2 separate regions of the Homo sapiens genome follow, and region 1 is linked to region 2. The links are contacts of gene promoters, found by promoter capture Hi-C in blood cells and fetal thymus (Javierre and others, 2016). All regions are on one chromosome and are shown on one strand. The core of a region is centred on a gene start or on the middle of the fragment in contact, and the rest is flanking DNA. Distances in the headings are between cores, read along the strand shown.

Region 1 (3,657 bases), core at 1,040-3,539, 200 kb before region 2:
TTTAGAAGAGATTAGTATAACAGTCTCTTTATATCTCTAGAGGTAGCACATAGTGACGCGGCAGTAGCTGCTCTTTCCTGCCTGAATCATATTGCTGTCCACCTGCACACTAGGCCCTGTCTTTGAAAGTTGTCTGGTGTAATGACCAGTAGGAAGTGATAAAATGTAAGTGACCCATCAGGGAATTATAAGGATGTTCTGGGAAGGTAATGATCCTTCATCAAAGGTGTGTCCAGCCTCTTGACAAGCAGTAGCTATCCAGCATCCCCATGCCAGACACTCCCTTCCAGAATAGCTGTAACTGCCAGGTGAACAGTCTTGGTGACTTCGTCCATGATGCACAGAGTTTTAGAGAAAGTAAGCCCAAGGCTGGCAGATCCCCAGTCCAGGTTAGAATCGACTTTATAATTTTAGAAAGTCTTAGGTTTTAAAACTTGATGTCTGTTAAGAATTCATTTAGATATTACATATATTGCTGTTGTCCAACTGTGTCAATGTGGCCAAAGGCCCTACAGCACTACAGCACAGAAAGATATCGGTTCATAAAGAAAAATTGCCACTGCTGTGATTCTATATTAATCAGACAGCAATAAGCATGTTTGTTGTTTAAGAAGATCCCTACCGTTTTTTCAAAGCTGGCCTCACAAACCAGAGTCAAAGTCATAAACCTGGCCACATGCAGTGGCTTACGCCTGTGATCCCAGCACTTTGGGAGGCCAAGGCAGGAGGATGGCTTGAGCCCAGAAGTTTGAGATCAGCCTGGGCAACATAGTGAGACCTCATCTCTATTTAAAAATAAATAAATAAATAAACATAAACCTTTCAGCACTCAAGAGTAGTGAGGCAAAATCAAGTAGGGAAGCTACAAATTTGTACCCAGGTAAACAGATTAAAAAAAAAAATTTTATTTTGCAATGCCACCTCATTCTTCTCCAAAATCAACATTAAGCACAAAACAAAAGTTTAATACACACCTCTAATAATATACAAAATGATTTGATAGTACCAGCACACATTTAGGGAGTTATATGTGATGACTCGATGAAAAATTTATTCCCTTGGTACACAATTTGGGTTGTCTGCAAAATAAGAACTGACGATATCTATAGCACAAAAATAATATTTTGAGTGTTCACTGTCTGCCAAGCACTTAACATATTTAAGCCTCCTTTCATCCCTATGACCACATTGTAAAGCAGGGAAGTAATGCTATGTCTACTTTGGAGATAAGGAAAATGAAATTCCCAGAAGCAATGTGCCCAAGGAGAGGAAGAGGCAGGAAGAGCTCGGTGAGCATGATCATGGCTCAGGTTCTCCATCCACATGCCTAAGACAGGGGTGAGTGTGAAGATGGGAACTGACTCAGAATTAACTGTGTGATCATGGGCAAGTTGCCAAGTTAACCCTCATATCTAAATTCAGGTATCCTTGAACAAACATAGACAGATACTGATGATCCGCCATGTTTACTATAACCATAAACTCTTTGTGAATTAAAAATGGCCTCTCAACCTGGAAAAAATGTAAAATAATATTGAGAATGGAATCCACTAAACAGGAAAAAAAAAAAAAACTCCAGCGCATCAGCTACATCTTTTTCAACTGAGGGTTTCTTTAACTACCTTAAAGTTGTGTTTGTAATTAACTAGGTTTGATTGAACATAAATTAAATGTCTTTTGGTCGCAGAGAAGTTCAACATTCGGGTATGTATGCCTAAAACACTGTAGTCTTAGAGAATGTCATGAAGACTGTGTTCATTTCTAATTCTTCAGTAATTAGAGGTGGGTTTACATTTTGGTCACCGCAGCTATTTCCGTAGCGTGTGGCTAAACTATTGGGCATGCTGAGCTAATACTTCACAACATAGTTCTGCGGGTGCCAAAGGCCACAGGCACCAAGGTTTCCAGTTAAATTGTTAGGAAAAAAATGCCAAAATGTCTGGATCCTGAATTGGAAGCTTCTGCTTCTTCTTCGTAAAAGTGAGGAAAGCCCCTATTAGCAAAAGACCAAACTGAGATTAGTGGCCAATCTGTAGACTTTCTATTATTTCACATAGTTTTAAAGTTATTTTTCTGCAAATTTTTGTCATGGAAAAGTCAGCAATTTTTTTTTGCAATTTTTCTGTTATCTCTGAATACAATGACTCTTCTGCCTTTATAAACCAAATTGTCCAAAATTAAGAAGACATGGCCATAAGTGAGACTGAGGTCTTCCTATTTATCTCAACTGAAAGCCACAAACTTGCATGGAATGAGACTGTTCATTATTTACCAGGGCAAATTTCAGGCTTGTTTTAAATGAAATCAAAATATCCTCTCTGCATCAATGTTCCTGACACACATATTTAGGGATATAGAGGAATCAATAAAGTTATGCTTTAAAAGAAGGATTATTAATCTATTTAATATGGATTGTTAGAGGTGGAGACAGCAAATTTTGAGAACAGGCAACAAACTGGTTTTTTGGCATGTCTTAGAAGTAATTGCAGCAGCCAGCCAGTAGACGGCAATGTTTGACAAACACCCGAATCCAAGAAAAATAATTTTGCTCTGTTGTGTCCCGGTGCTGCCTGTGTAAAACTAATTTCACACCAGCCACCATGCTAAACACTGGGAATGCCAAAGCTTTGTCTTTTTCCCCAGTGAACTGTGAGCAATGCATGCAACTCTTCCAGATAATCCCTTAATCATATTTAAAAATAGGAATAGTGGCCGGGCGCGGTGGCTCACACCTATAATCCCAGCACTTTGGGAGGCCAAGGCGGGTGGATCACAAGGTCAGGAGATCAAGACCAGCCTGGCCAACATGGTGAAACCCCGTCTCTACTAAAAATACAAAAAATTAGCCAGGCGTGGTGGCGCATGCCTGTAGTCCCAGCTACTCGGGAGGCTGAGGCAGGAGAACTGCTTGAACTCGGGAGGTGGAGGTTGCAGTGAGCCGAGATTGCGCCACTGCACTCCAGCCTGGGTGACAGAGCGAGACTCCATCTCAAAAAACAAACAAAAAACGAATAGCTTCTTCTCTTTTTCTCAAAATCCATGTAGTAGGCAGGGGCCTAGGCCAGGTGTGTCCTGAAGGCCTTTGTAGATCAATGAATCCTAATACTGGTAAACTGGATTATTTTAAAATAGAAGCTGTAAAAGGATCAGTAGCTCTACAATGAGGAAGAACAGAATGAATGCCTACAAAGGCATTAATAACTGTGTGTATTATCAAACACTGTTTTTATAATACTATTTTTGAAATCTCAGAAAATGTGCATTAAATTCTAAAATTCTAAAAATTAGCCAAAACCAGACAAACCTAAAACCATAATGGGATACTACTACACATCTATTAGAATGACTAAAATTTAAATATATATACTACTTTTTTTAATTTTTATTTTTCTTAAAGACAGTGACTTGCTGTGTCACCCAGGCTAGGTAAAGTGGCACAATCATAGCTCACTGAAGCCTCAAACTCCTGGGCTAAAGCAGTCCTCTTATTTCTGCCTACTAGTAGCTAGGACTAGAGGCACATGCAACCACACCCGGCTATTTTTTAATTTTGGTACAGACAGGGGTCTTGCTATGTTGCCCAGGCAGGTCGCAAACTCCTGGCCTCAAGCAATTGTCCCACCTCCACCTCTCAAAGTGCTGGGATTACAGGTGTGA
Region 2 (3,445 bases), core at 259-2,758:
TAACCCTGCTCTCCTACTACATTCCTTTTTGCTGAAATAATGAAAATAATAATCAATAAAAACTGAGGGAACTCAGAGGCCGGTGCCGGTGCAGGTCCTTGGTATGCTGAGCGCCGGTCCCCTGGGCCCACTGTTGTTTCTCTATACTTTGTCTCTGTCTTATTTCTTTTCTCAGTCTCTCGTCCCACCCGACTAGAAATACCCACAGGTGTGGAGGGGCAGGCCACCCCTTCATAAAGGACACAAGAGGACTCACTCCAGGTATCATTGTGCCCTCCTTTCCCCAAGCATACACCCAAAGCAGTCTTCTCTACTATTTAAAATCAGGACATTAAGTGAACAGAACAGCTCTGTAGGCACAGTCACCACCCTAGTTTAAACCACTTATGTCTCTCTCCTAGATACACAATGGTGCCTCCAATTTCTGAAGTCTGTAGCTAAACTGACCTTTTCAAATACAAACAGAATCCTTTCATATTTCAACTGAAAACATTCCACTGGTCCTTTATTACTTTATGGAAGCAATTCTCAAATCTTACCTTGCATTATAATCACCTGGAGGTCTTGGTAAAAGATTGCCTGGGCCACATCCCCAGTTTCTGACTCAGTAGGGCTGGTTTTTTCCTAAGTTCCCAGATGATGCTGCTGGCCTGCGGACTGTACTTTGTGAACCTATGCTTTAAGGAAAACAAAGCAAAAAGATCCATTAAGATCTAGTCCAAGTTTTTTGCCTAGCTCCCATCATGTCACATATCACAGTTATGTGATTTTACAGCTACTCTGCAATTCTTTACCTAACTGTAAAAACCCCTCACCAGGCAGCAAGCTTCTTGGTGGCAATACGTCTCTAGCTTGTTTGAGGAATAAATAAAACCTGTGGTAGATTCCAAGCTCTCAGTTTCAACCATCATCATACTGGCTGATTCTTAACATGCCTGCACCTAAAGCGCCTCATCTACAAAGTTGAAATGATAATTCGTACCTGTAAGACCCTTGTGAGGATTACAGGATGCTTACATAGGTCGAGGGTGCAGACGACGTAGGCTGGTGGGTTCTCAACTGGCAGCTACCACTTCGCTCCCTTAACTCCCCAACCCCCACTCCCAAACACGTACATTAACTCTTTGAAGATAACATAGCCACTTCATAAACCCTAATTCAGATCATAACATTTAAAGCTTAATTGATACAGGCTCAACACCCCCATTCTAACTCTACAATCCTGAATTTTTCACAAGAGCTACGCCAGACACTAAGGAGATCCAGTCGTGGGCAGGCAGCGACCCGGAGGTTTAGGCACAGAGAATGTTCAAGAAGCCCCTGTCCAGTTAAGCCTCCTGGCGAGGCCCTTCTGGGCCTTTCCTGCGGCCTTCCCAGCTCACCTGGAGCAGACGGATCAGCAAATCCGGCCAAAGAATACTCAGGACCCACCGAGCCCCCGCGAGGAAGGACTCATACCCCAACCCCACCAAGTGGGCTGCTTCCTGCCTGGGGCTCAGCCTGCGCGGTGGTTGGCAGTTGCCCCGGAAGTGGGCGGGAAGGACCTGCGCATGCTCTGTGACCCTGGGTGCAGGGATTGTGTGAAGATTGAGAGCTGGGGGCGCCCTCTTCCGTGATCAGGGCCCCGTTGGCCCCAACTGGCATTTAATTCCCCTGGCTGTCTTTTCGGATTCTTATCACTTTTTATGTATATGAGTAAACTTGAGGGTCCAAGTAAGTCTGCAAGTTGGTTTTAAAAGCTTCACCAGCACAGCGTCCCCTCCCAGATGGTGAGGGAGTGGAGAGCTTTGCAGGGTCAACTGCTTCCCGTAGCCTGGGGTCGCAGGGTGGAGTCGTTGAGCACTCCCTATGCTTGAAAGAGGAATAGAAGCCCCTTTGGATTAGTTTGCATCTCAGTGGGTGAGTGGGTGGATCTCTCCCACCCTGTGGGATTGTGCCCTACCCTATGAACTCAGGTTTACCTGAGGAAGTGACATTTCAGGCGGAATTTGAGGGATGAAGAGGCATTCGTTGGATCAATTCCACGGTCAAAGTCTTCAAGGCTGGAAGAAGAGCCAATGTGGAGCCTCTCAACTTTAAAGAATTTAGTACAGGCCGGGCATAGTGGCTCACACCTGTAATCCAAGCACTTTCAGAGGCAGAGGTGGGAGGATCGCTTGAGGCCAGGAGTTCAGGACAAGCCTAGGTAACATTGCCAGACCCTGCGTCTACAAAATATTTTAGAAATGATTTTTTTTTCTTTTAATAAGAGACGGAATCTCTCTTTCGCCCAGGCTGGAGTGCAGTGGCGCGATCTTGGCTCTCTGCAACCTCTGCCTCCCAGTTTCAAGCAATTCTCCTGCCTCTGTCTCCCGAGTAGCTGGGTCTATAGGCGCACGCCGCCACGCCTGGCTAATTTTTTGTTGTTGTATTTTTAGTAGAGACGGGGTTTCATCGTGTTGCCCAGGCTGGATTCGAACTCCTGAGATCAGGCAATCCGCCCGCCTCGGCCTCCCAAAAGTGCCAGGATTACAGGCGTGAGCCACCTCACCCAGCCAGAAATGATAATTTTATTTTTATTTTTATTTTTTTTTTGAGACGGAGTCTCGCTCTGTGGCCCAGGCTGGAGTGCAGTTGCGTGATCTCGGCTCACTGCAAGCTCCGCCTCCCGGGTTCACGCCATTCTCCTGCCTCAGCCTCCAGAGTAGCTGGGACTACAGGTGCCTGCCACCACGCCCAGCTAATTTTTTGTATTTTTAGTGGAGACGGGGTTTCACCGTGTTAGCCAGGATGGTGTCGATTTCCTGACCTCGTGATCCGCCCGCCTCGGCCTCCCAAAGTGCTAGGAGTACAGGCGTGAGCCACCGCGCCCTGCCTAGAGATGATAATTTTTAAAAACTTGGTACAAAAGGAACTGAAAGAGGTCATTTGGTTGGCACTACAACGTGGGAAATTGCAAGAAGTATAAAATATGGAAAATGGCTTTGTGAGGCTGATGAGATAGGCGAGAATGAATGCTGCAAGGCCCTTTAGGCAAAATTGAGGATATTGGTTTTTATCAAATGCAAAGAAAAGCCAGTGAAGCATTTTAAACATGAAGTACTAAGATTTGAATTGTGGAATAAAGACCCGTCGATGCCTTTAATATATCCTAGAAAGGGTGTATGGTGGACAGTTGAATAGAGGTGTGACCTAGACAAATCAACCGATAAAGCAAAGTCCTTGTTCGTAAACCTTTTGAAATTCCAGAGTCTCCTGAAAAAGAAAGGAAAAGAAATACCAGTGGCAGCAGCTTCCCCCATATTACTTTGCAGTGAGGTGAGTGCATGGTATTTATTTGTTATTTTCGCCCAGGCTGGAGTACAATGGCGCCATTTTGGCTCACTGCAAGCTCCGCCTCGCGGGTTCAGCCTCCCTGGTTCAAACAGTTCTCCTGCCTCAGCCTACAGAGTAGCTGGGATTACAG

Evidence for each region. Contacts are between HindIII fragments. The CHiCAGO score rates a contact against its expected background, and 5 or more counts as called.
Region 1: a contact is called between a fragment that was not itself captured here and the fragment with the promoter of TRIM61 in region 2, in 1 of 17 cell types (megakaryocytes). The highest score is 5.6, in megakaryocytes.

Annotation. Positions count from the first base shown.
Region 1 is chr4:164,777,436-164,781,092 of GRCh38, forward strand. All of the region lies in intron 2 of SMIM31 (small integral membrane protein 31), which reads left to right. Among named protein-coding and RNA genes, the nearest start is that of SMIM31, 25 kb to the left of the region's middle. The HindIII fragment of the contact is 667 bases long and covers 1,957-2,623 here.
Region 2 is chr4:164,976,149-164,979,593 of GRCh38, forward strand. It overlaps TRIM61 (tripartite motif containing 61), which reads right to left and starts at 1,509. Exons shown (of 3, transcript NM_001414904.1): 1 at 1,383-1,509; 2 at 540-677. RefSeq lists enhancers at 1,618-1,697, 1,728-1,787. The HindIII fragment of the contact is 561 bases long and covers 1,177-1,737 here.